2 separate regions of the Homo sapiens genome follow, and region 2 is linked to region 1. Evidence: promoter capture Hi-C in human tissues and cell types (Jung and others, 2019). All regions are on one chromosome and are shown on one strand. Each heading gives the region's core, a stretch centred on a gene start or on the middle of the fragment in contact. The rest is flanking DNA. Distances are from core to core; before and after follow the strand shown.

Evidence for each region. The method cuts DNA at HindIII sites, captures the fragments that hold promoters and counts their contacts. A contact is called where the count stands out against the background at its distance.
Region 2: a fragment that was not itself captured here is called in contact with the fragment with the promoter of NLRP7 in region 1 in 1 of the 25 tissues and cell types used here (spleen).

What each region holds. Positions count from the first base shown.
Region 1 is chr19:54,946,132-54,951,696 of GRCh38, reverse strand. It overlaps NLRP7 (NLR family pyrin domain containing 7), which reads left to right and starts at 4,167. Exons shown (of 11, transcript NM_001127255.2): 1 at 4,167-4,228. RefSeq lists an enhancer at 385-1,075. The HindIII fragment of the contact is 18,328 bases long and covers 1-5,169 here.
Region 2 is chr19:53,893,420-53,899,022 of GRCh38, reverse strand. It overlaps PRKCG (protein kinase C gamma), which reads right to left. Exons shown (of 18, transcript NM_002739.5): 10 at 912-1,064; 11 at 395-583. Among named protein-coding and RNA genes, the nearest start is that of CACNG7, 13 kb to the left of the region's middle. RefSeq lists enhancers at 1-246, 1-248. The HindIII fragment of the contact is 6,042 bases long and covers 1-5,603 here.

The DNA.
Region 1 (5,565 bases), core at 2,918-5,417:
AGTGCAGTGTCTAGAGCCACGTGATACACAGCAGCCAGGATGTGGGCCAGAGTGCAGCCTGATTCACATTTTTTCATTTTTATTTTTTTTACTAAAAGTGGGTTTTCATTTTTTGTTTTGTTTTTGTTTTTGTTTTTTGTTTTTTGAGATGGAGTCTCACTCTGTTGCACCCAGGCTGGAGTGCAGTCGTGCGACCTCGGCTCACTGCAACCTCTGCCTCTGCCTCCCGGGTTCAAACAATTCTGCCTCAGCCTCTCGAGTAGCTGGGATTACAGGCGTTGAACTACCATGCCCCGCTAATTTTTGTATTTTTGTAGAGACGCAGTTTCACCATGCTGGCTGGGCTGGTCTCAAACTCCTGACCTTAAGTGATCCATCTGCCTCAGCCTCCCAAAGTGCTGGGATTACAGGCCTGAGCCACTGTGCCTGGTCTACAAAGGATATTTTTGTGGGGAAAAGAAAGAGAGATCAGATTGTAACTGTGTCTGTGTAGAAAGAAGTAGACACAGGAGACTTCATTTTGTTCTGTACTAAGACAAATTCTTCTGCCTTGAGATGCTGTTAATCTATGACCTTACCCCCAACCCTGTGCTCTCTGAAACATGTGCTGTGTCCACTCAGGGTTAAATGGATTAAGGGCTGTGCAAGATGTGCTTTGTTAAACAAATGCTTGAAGGCAGCATGCTCCTTAAGAGTCATCACCACTCCCTAATCTCAAGTACCCAGGGACACAAACACTGCGGAAGGCCGCAGGGACCTCTGCCTAGGAAAGCCAGGTATTGTCCAGGGTTTCTCCCCATGTGATAGCCTGAAATATGGTCTCATGGGAAGGGAAAGACCTGACCGTCCCTCAGCCCGACACCAGTAAAGGGTCTGTGCTGAGGCGGATTAGTAAAAGAGGAAGGAACACCTCTTTGCAGTTGAGACAAGAGGAAGGCATCTGTCTCCTGCTCGTCCCTGGGCAATGGAATGTATGGGTGTAAACCCCGATTGTATATTCCATATACTGAGATAGGGGAAAACCGCCTTAGGGCTGGAGGTGGGACATGCGGGCAGCAATACTGCTCCGTAAGGCATTGAGATGTTTATGTGTATGCATATCTAAAGCACAGCACTTAGTTCTTTACCTTGTCTATGATGCAGAGACCTTTGTTAACGTGTTTATCTGCTGACCTTCCCTCCACTATTATCCTATGACCCTGCCACATCCCCCTCTCTGAGAAACACCCCAAAATGATCAATAAATACTAAGGGAACTCAGAAGCTGGCGGGATCCTCCATATGCTGAATGCTGGTCCCCTGGGTCCCCTTATTTCTTTCTCTATACTTTGTCTGTGTCTCTTTCTTTTCCAAGTCTCTCCTTCCACCTAACGAGAAATGCCCACAGGTGTGGAGGGGCAACCCGCCCTTTCATATTTTAAAGGATACAAATGAACAGCCAAGGAAGAGATGCGTAGGGGGAGGTTTAGAGGAGTCCGAAGTGCAGGAGCTTCTGTCCCTGTGGACCTGGGGTGCACCACAGTCCTGGCACACGAATGCACCCGGGTTCACCAACCAGGAAGCTCTTCTGAACTCTTTCCTGGTTTTTTTTTTTTTTGAGACAGTCTAACTCCGTCACCCAGGCTGGAGTGCAGTGGCGCTATCTCAGCTCACTGCAGCCTCTGTCTCCTGCGTTCAAGTGATTCTCATGCCTCAGCCTCCTGAGTAGCTGGGTCTACAGGTGCACTCCACCACGCCTGGCTAATTTTTTATTTTTTGTAGAGCCAGGGTCTTGCTATTTTGTCCAGACTGGCCTAGAATTCTTGGGCTCAAGCAATCCTCCCATCTAGGCCTCCCAAAGCGTTGGGATTACGGGCATGAGCCACAGGACACCCGGCCCAAACCCTTTTCTTTTGGGGTTTATGGAGGATTCCTTAGGTGGGCAATGCTGATCACATAGCTGGCAGTTCATAATCAATTCAACCTTCAGCCCCTCTCCCCTCCCTGGAGGCCACTTGGAGCCTGGGGCTGAAAGTTCCCAATGTCTAATCACTGACGGTTTCTTTGGCAGCCAGTCCCTCGCACTTGTGGGGTTATCTAGGGGCTTTCCAAAAGTCACCTCATTTACATAAACTCAGGTGTGGTTGCAGGGCCTGGGTATGTATAACAAGAGATACCTCTTTCATGTTTATCTCTCCATAGCTGCTCTAGGACTAAAGGCCAAATGTTTTAACAAAATATACTCTCTCTCTCTTTTTGTCAGCTAGAATATAATTTATTTTTATTGTTTTTATTTTCTTTTTCTTCAGAGAGGGAGTCTCGCCATATTGCCCAGGCTGGTCTTGAACTCCTGGACTCAGGCAGTCCTCCCGCCTCAGCCTCCCAAAGTGCTGGGATTACATTCATGAACCACTGCGCCTGGCCATCTTTTTTTTTTTTTTTTAAAGATGGAGTCTCTGTCGCCCAGGCTGGAGCGCAGTGGTGCAATCTCGGCTCACGGCAACCTCCAACTCCCAGGTTCAATCAATTCTTACGCCTCAGCCTCCTGAGTAGCTGGGATTACAGGTGCACACCACCATGCCTGGCTAATTCTTTATTTTTAGTAGCCAGGGGTTTTTTGCCATGTTGCCCAGGTTGGTCTCGAACTGCTGACCTCAGATGATCCACCTGCCTCAGCCTTCCAAAGTGCAGGGATTACAGGTGTGAGCCACCATGCCAGGCCTCCATAGTGCCTATTTCTATAGATGGCATGCTGCAACTGATATATACATCTTCATTTGTGGGACCATTTGCTTCCATTAAATTAACAGTTTAAACTACCAAAATTCTGTGCTGAATGCTTTCCACAACATACACTGTTTTATTTAAAAACAATTTTAGGCCAGGTGCGGTGGCTCATGCCTGTAATCACCTGACATCAGGAGTTTGAGACCAGCCTGACCAATATGGTGAAACCCTGTCTCTACTAAAAATACAAAAAATTAGTTGGGCATGGTGGCATGTGCCTGCAGTCCCAGCTACTTGGGAAGCTGAGGCATCAGAATTGCTTGAACCTGGAAGGCAGAGGTTGCAAGAATGGAGATTGCACCACTGCACTCCAGCCTGGGCCACAGAGCAAGACTCCATCCAAAAAAAAAAATTAAATATCAGTTATCTATTTATTTTTTTGAGACTGGGTCTCACTCTGTGGCCTAGGCTGGAGTGAGATGGCCAGTCACAGCTCACTGCAGCCTCAAACTCCTGAGCTCAGGTGATCCTCCCACCTCAGCCTCCTGAATAGCTGGGATTACAGGTGCAGCCCATCATGTATGGCTAATTTTTTTGTTTTTGTTTTTGAGACAGTCTTGCTCTTGTCACCCAGGCTGGAGTGCAATGGCGTGATCGTGCCTCACTCACCCTCCACCTCCCTAGTTCAAGTGATTGTCCTGTCTCAGCCTCCCGAGTAGCTGGGATTACAGGCACCTGCCACCACACCTGGCTAATTTTTTGTATGTTTAGTAGAGACAGAGTTTCACCACGTTGGCCAGTCTGGTCTCCAACTCCTGACCTCAGGTGATCCACCCGCCTCGGCTTCCCAAATTGCTGGGACTACAGGCATGAGCTACCACGCCCAGCCTATGCATGGCTAATTATTAAATATTTTTGAAGAGATGGCATCTTGCTATGTTGCCTAGGCTGGTATCAAACTCCTGGCCCCTAGGGATCCACTGGCCTAGGCCTCTCAGCCTGCTGGGATTTATAGGCAGGAGGCACCACAGTTGGCCACAAAGTAGACTTATTGTATTTGTAACTTAGGAAGTCACGGGAGTTTTTGTCCTCTTTTTTTTTAATTTTTATTTATTTTTGTTTAATTTTTTTTCTCTACAAGAGTTTTTAAAGCTGGGAGCCAGGTACCCTGCAAAACCCAAAATGTGTATTTCCTGTTCTGTCGCCTATCACACCTGGCCCGGGTGGTCTAGGAAGGGAATTGCACATTAATCTCACCTGGGGAGATTCAGCAAGCCGTAATTCTCCAAAGCCCACTGAAGCCCAATTACAGCCAAATCCCTGAGGATGGGGCCCAGGTGATGTCAAGGTGAGCCTGAGGTCAGTGGTTGGGAGCCACCCAATGTTAATCTCAGTGGGGCGGTTCCACCCTGGGCGGGAAAGCTGTCTCTCCACCTAGCGTACCAAGGGCCAGAGACCTCCCCTTTTTATCCGTTTCCTTTGCAGGAAACACAGGCTGGAAGCAAGACCTGACCTGAGGGAGGTGAGTGCTGGTTCTTGCATCGATTTCTTTGTCTTCTCGTTTAAGGGAGAAGAAGCTATTGGTTGAGTTTCCACCATAGCCCTTCCCAAGCCTTAATGGTTGGTGCGAGGATGCTGGAAGGATCTTTGATTTTTTTTTTTTTGAGACGGAGTCTCCCTCTGTCGCCCAGGCTGGAGTGCAGTGGCGTGATCTTGGTTCGCTGCAAACTCCGCCTCCTGGGTTCACCCGCCATTCTCCTGCCTCAGCCTCCTGAGTAGCTGGGACTACAGGCACGTGCCACCATGCCCAGCTAATTTTTGTATTTTTAGTAGAGACGGGGTCTCACCATGTTGGCCAGGCTGGTCTTGAACTCCTGACTTTAGGTAATCTGTCTGCCTCGGCCTCCCAAAGTGCTGGGATTCCAGGTGTGAGCCACCACGCCTGGCCTAATGTCTTAAGGACTTCTATTCAAATATAGTTTAGAGGAGTTCAGGAGATTGAGACTAGCCTGGGCAACATGGTAAAACTCTGTCATTACAAAAAAATATAAGGCCAGGCACAGTGGTTCATGCCTGTTATCCCAACACTTTGGGAGGCCGAGGCGGGTGGATCACTTGAGGCCAGAAGTTTGAGACCAGCCTGCCCAAAATGGTGAAACCCTGTCTCTACTAAAAACACAAAAATTAGCCAGGTGTGGTGGTGCATGCCTGTAATCCCAGTTACTTGGAAGGTTGAGGCAGGAGAATAGCTTAAACCTAGGAGGGGGAGGTTGCAATGAGCTGAGATCGCGCCACTGCACTCCAGCCTGGGAGACAGAGTGCGACTCCGTCTCAAAAAACAAAGAAGGCCAGACCTTGTGCTGTGTCCAAGCTACTTGTGGGGTGAGGTGGGAGGATCACCTGAGCCAGGAGGTGGGGGCTGCAATGAGGTGTGATTGAGCCACTGCACTCCAGCCTGGATGAGATGAAGACCCTGTTTAAAAAAAAAAAAAAGTAGGCTGGGCGCGGTGGCTCACGCCTGTAATCCCAGCACTTTCAGATCACCTGAGGCCGGGAGTTTGAGACCAGCCTGACCAACATGGAGAAACCCCATCTCTACTAAAAATACAAAATTAGCTGGGCGTGGTGGCACATGCCTGTAATCCCAGCTACTCGGGAGGCTGAGGCAGGAGAATCACTTGAACCCGGGAGGCGGAGGTTGCGGTGAGCTGAGATTGCGCCACTGCACTCCAGCCTGGGCAACCAGAGTGAAATGCTGCATCAAAAAAAAAAAAAAATGTAAATGGCCAGATGCGGTGGCTCACGCCTGTGATCCCAGCACTTTGGGAGGCCGAGGCGGGTGGATCAGCTGAGGTCAGG
Region 2 (5,603 bases), core at 1,484-3,983, 1.1 Mb after region 1:
TTAATGATCCCATCGCCTGACAAAGCCCGCCCCTCTAAACCACCCCCCCAAAGATTTCATCCGCCTGACCACGCCCCGCGAAGAGCCCCTCTGCCTGGCCACGCCCCCGATGAGTCCCTCCACCTGGCCACGCCCCCGAGGAGCCCCTCCACCCGGCCTCGCCTCCGTTGAGCCCCTCCGCCTGGCCACGCCCCCCGATGAGTCCCTTCGCCTGGCCACGCCCCCCAAGGACCCCCCCCCGGCCACGCCCCCTGAGGAGACAATCCGCCTGGCCTCGCCCACTCAGAGAGCACAAAGTTCTCTTGCCTCGCCCTAAACTCAGAATCCCAACGCAGATGTCCAGAACTGGATAAGGCAGGGCCCGGAGGACAGCCTCCGCCCCCTCCATCCTTACCGGGGTCTGGAAGGTGGAGTGGAGCTGGGTGAGGAAGTGGGGCCGGCCGCCAGGACCCCGGCCCCCCAGCGCCAGCACACGTTTCTCCACCAGCGTGCAGTCCACATCGTCGTCCTGGACGATCACGTCCTTTTTCAAGATCTTGATGGCGTAGAGCTCATCAGAGCCCCTGCGCTCGGCCAGCATCACCTATGCGCACAGTTCCAAAAGGGCCAGTCCATGTTGGGAACCCAGTGGTACAGGACCTGCCCCCTCCCTAAGGGACGCAGGGAAACGGGATCCCAGGCCCTTCCTCCATCTCTTAAGGGACTGACAGCCCTGACTTGCCGCCCGTCCCCTCAAGGAGAGTGTCCACATCTGTAAACCTCTCCTCTCCAGGAACCTGAACGGCCCAACCTAACCATATTTGAAGATGCAGGAGCCCAGTCTCTTCCCACCCCCACTTCCTCCCTAAGAACCAGAAATCTGACCTTCCCACAGACATCCTCCCTTTCCCCCAGAACCCCAGGAATCCAACCTTCCCAAAACTGCCTTTTCCTAGAACCATGAGGAAGCTGAAGTCGGAGATGTGCAGGCGTCCTGGACTCGCCCCGAAGAAGCAGCGCTTGGGGTCGGTGGGACTAGGGGAAGGGGAGGGGATGGGAGAGGAAGAGGGGCCCATCCGCACCCGCTGTGGAAAGGAGAAAGAAAGAGCCAGAGGCAGTTAGACCTTACACAGCGATAAGGAAATGCTCCCAAGAGACACAGCACCCAAGAAAGGAAAGGATGAGAATCGCTAGACAGAGGAAAATGGCCACCCTCCTACCCTGTCCTTGGCTTAATTTTCTCTGACTCCCCATAGCCTGGAGGGTTTATTTATTATTCAACAAACACTTAGCTCTTTTTTTCTTCTTTTTTTTTTTTAGATAGCTTATCATATGCTGTTTCCAGAAAACCCTGCTATCGTTTCCATTTTACAGAAGAGGAGACTAGCACAGAGACGTTAAGTAACTTGCCCCAAGTCACACAGCAGGTAAAGGACAGAGCCAGAAATGAAACCCAAGCAGTCCAGCTCTAGAATCTGGTTGCTCTTAGCCTCTAAGCCGGAATTCCCTAGAGGGTTTGGTAAAACAGATTGCTGGGTCCCACTGCCAGATTTTCTAACTCTATAAATCTGGGGTGGGACCTGAGAATCGTTATGTGTAAAAAGCTTCTGGGTGACATGGGTGCTGCCAGTCCAGGGAGCACACCTGGCTTTCAGCTAGGGTCCCTTCTCTACCTTTTCCTGCCTCGGCCCCCCAGGGAGGGGGCCCAAGACTAAGCTGCTGTCACAGCTTCCACACTTGTCCCTCTACATGGACGGCTGCCCTTTCTAATGCATTCTCTACTCAGCAGGCACAGGAGCCAATTTAAAAATAAATAAACCAGGTCATGTCTCCCCTATGCTTGTAAACCCTTTAACTGCTCCCTCTGTGTTAAGATTTTATTCCACATGACTTGCAGAGCCAGGCTGAGACTGACACTGCAGGTTGTTCTTCTCTCTCCCAGGCTCCATGGTCCAGCCACCCTGGCCTGACACTCATTGTCCTCCCTCCCACCTCAGGGCCTCTGGATGTGCCGTTAGGTCTTCCTGTAAAGCTCTCCCCTCCCCTTCCCTCCTAGTTGTCTCCCAAACACCCTTTAGACCTTGACTCAAGCATCACTTCATAGAGGCCTCGCCTGACTTTTTAAACTGGGTCAGATGCCTCTCTTACCACCCCTTGGTCACCATGGACAGCACCTTCCTGGCACTTTTATTCTTAGTAATTTACATCTATCTGTGTGACTATCTGCTTTCTGCCTGTGAGCTCCCTAAGGCAGGGGTCTGCTTTGTTCGCTAAGACACAGTAACACTGCCTACCTCATTGAGGCTACATAAATATTTGTTGAGGGCTGGGTGCGGTGGCTCATGCCTGTAATCCCAGCACTTTGGGAGGCCGAGGTGGGCAGATCACCTGAGGTCAGGAGTTCAAGACCAGCCTGGCCAACATGGCGAAGCCCCATCTCTACTAGCAATATAAAAATTAGTAGGACATGGTGGCACATGCCTGTAGTCCCAGCTACTTGGGAGGCCAAGGCAGGAGAATCGCTTGAACCCGGGAGGCAGAGGTTGCAGTGAGCTGAGATCGCTCCACTGCATTCCAGCCTGGGCGACAGAGCGAGACTGTGTCTCAAATAGATAAATACATAATAATAATAATAATAATAATAATAATAATAATAATAATAATAATCAGGGCTGTTTCTGTTTGCTGTGTTGTTAGCCCCGTACCTAGCTCAAGGCTTGGCACAGAGTTGGTGTTCATTGGTAATATTAAGTGGTGCCTGCTGAACTGTGGGAGAGTGCTGTGAGCCACAACAGGCACACACACCACCCTACACTCCCTGCCTCTAGGCCTTTGCCCACCATCTGCCCTGCTGGGTTTCTTGGGTTTGTACGGGAGGATCATCCCTGCTGATCTCAAAAGACTCTACCTCTTTGGCTCAGAATGTCCTCCCGCTGGTACCCTTGTCTCCTGCAGAGCCCATTCTCTCTTTTTTTTTTTTTTCTGAGATAGAGTCTCGCTCTGTCACCCAGGCTGTAGTGCAGTGGCACGATCTCGGCTCATTGCAAGCTCCACCTCCCAGGTTCATGCCATTCTCCTGCCTCAGCCTCCTGAGTACCTGGGACTACAGGCACCCACCACCACGCCCAGCTAATTTTTTTGTATTTTTAGTAGAGACGGGGATTCACCGTGTTAGCCAGGATGGTCTCGATCTCCTGACCTCGTGATCCACCCGCCTTGGCCTCCCAAAGTGCTGGGATGACAGGCGTGAGCCACTGCGCCCGGCCGCAGAGCCCATTCTCAAACTTAACTTTGCAAAAGGATCACCTGAGGAATTAATTTAGTAGGCAGACATTTGAGGCATCAGAGAGATCGTCACTGAGTAGGTCTGCAGAAAGGCTGGGGAATGTGCTTTTAAAAGCAAGCACTCTAGGAATTCTGATGCAGGTGAACCCCCACACACAACATTAAAAACTCTGGTGAAAGTTTCTGTAAGAGTCCAGTAAAGACTATAACATGTTGTTGCTGTTGTTGAATCTTGAAGATTCTTGTCTTCTTTTTTTTTTTTTTTTTTTTTGAGACAGAGTCTCCCTCTGTCATCCAGGCTGGAGTGCAGTGGAGCGATCTGGGCTCACTGCAGCCTCTACTTCCCGGAATCCAGCAATTCTCCTGCCTCAGCCTTCCGAGTAGCTGGGATTACAGGCGCCTCCACCATGCCCAGCTGATTTTTGTATTTTTTAGTAGAGATGGGGTTTTGCCACGCTGGCCAGGCTGGTCTCAAACTCCTGACCTCAGGTGATCCGCCCGCCTTACTAGGATCACAGACATGAGGCATCGTGCCCAGTCTATCATATGCTTATATATTTTGTTTAATGTCTTCCTCCCGGTGTAAATCCCATAAGGAAAGGAACTTTTTTGTTTGTTTGTTTGTTCTTTCCCTGCTTTCTCTATATCCCCAGTGAGTAGAGCCACGCCTGGCACACAAAGATGCTCTGTAAAGTATTTTTTGAAAGGGTAAATGAGGGAGAGAGCATTACTTCCTCCTGCCTGAAAATCTGGTCTCTCCTTTGGGAAATCCCGCCCTTCTACCAGGTCTCACCTCTCTAGGAAGCTTTCTCTGACTCAGGCTGTGCCAGGGACGCCCCAGTGCCTGAGGCTGTCTCCATTACAGCAGCATTGCTCCTCGTTGTGAATGTCTGGGTTTGTAACTTTGTCCTCCACTAGAAGAAGAGCTCCACCAGGGAATGGCCTGATTCTATTCCCAGAACAGGGCCTGGCTTATGACACCCTAGAAAATGGGTATTCGTCTGGGCGTGGTCGCTCACGCCTCTAATCTCAGCGCTTTGGGAGGCCAAGGCGGGTGGATCACTTGAGGTCAGGAGTTCGAGACCAGCCTGGCCAACATGTCGAAACCCCATCTCTACTAAAAATACAAAAATTAGCCAGGTGTGGTGGTGCGCTCCTGTAATCCCAACTACTCAGGAGGCTGAGGCAGGAGAATCACTTGAATCTGGGAGGCAGAGGTTGCAGTGAGCTGAGACTGCATCACTGCACTCCAACCTGGGTGACAAAAGGAGATTCTGTCTCAAAAAAAAAAAGAAAGAAAGAAAGAAAGAAAAAGAAGGATATTCAGTGAGTGAATGAATGAATGGAGAGATTAAGATGATCATGCTTGATAGATTTTTTAAAACTCAAGAATCGGCTGGGTGTGGTGGCTCACGCCTGTAATCCCAGCACTTTGGGAGGCTGAGGCGGGTGGATCACCAGGTCAGGAGATCGAGACCATCCTGGCTAACACGGTGAAACCCCATCTCTACTAAAAATACAAAAAATTAGCCGGGCATGGTGGTGGGCGCCTGTAGTCCCAGCTACTCAGGAGGCTGATGCAGGAGAATGGCGTGAACCCAGGAGGCGGAGCTTGCAGTGAGCCGAGATCGCACCACTGCACTCCAGCCTGGGCGTCACAGCGAGACTCCGTCTCAAAAAAAAAATAAAAAACTCAAGAATCGGTCGGGCGCAGTGGCTCATGCCTGTAATCCCAGCACTTTGGGAGGCCAAGGCAGGCGGATCACCTGAGTTTGGGAGTTTGAGATCAGCCTGGCCAACATGGCGAAATCCCATCTCTACTAAAAATAAAAAAAAAATTAGCTGGGTGTGGTGGCGGTCACCTGTAATCCCAGCTACTCAGGAGGCTGAGGCAAGAGAATTGCTTGAACCCGGGAGCTGGAGGTTGCAGTGAGGCGAGATTGTGCCATTGCACTCCAGCCTGGGCGACAGAAATAAAAATAAAAATAAAAATAAAAATAAATTAAAAAATTTTAAAAAACCTCAAGAATCAATTCAGGCGTCACCTCCTCAGGGAAGTCCTCCCTGACCACCCTCCCCCAGGCTGGATTAGTGCCTCCGTTAGGCCTCTTCAGTGCCCTGGGCTACCTCTAATTTAGCACATCTTCCTGTATTTTAAGTATCTGTGACTGTGTCCCTACCTTGGAGAGTTGCTTGAGGGTCAGATTCATCTCTGGATCCTGGATTATTCAGCAAGCACAAGACAGGCCTAGCACAAATGTGTGCTCAACTCATGTGTGGGGAATTGAAGACAGAAGTCAGAGGAGGAATAAGAAATCAGAGAAGTAGGCAAAAACTGC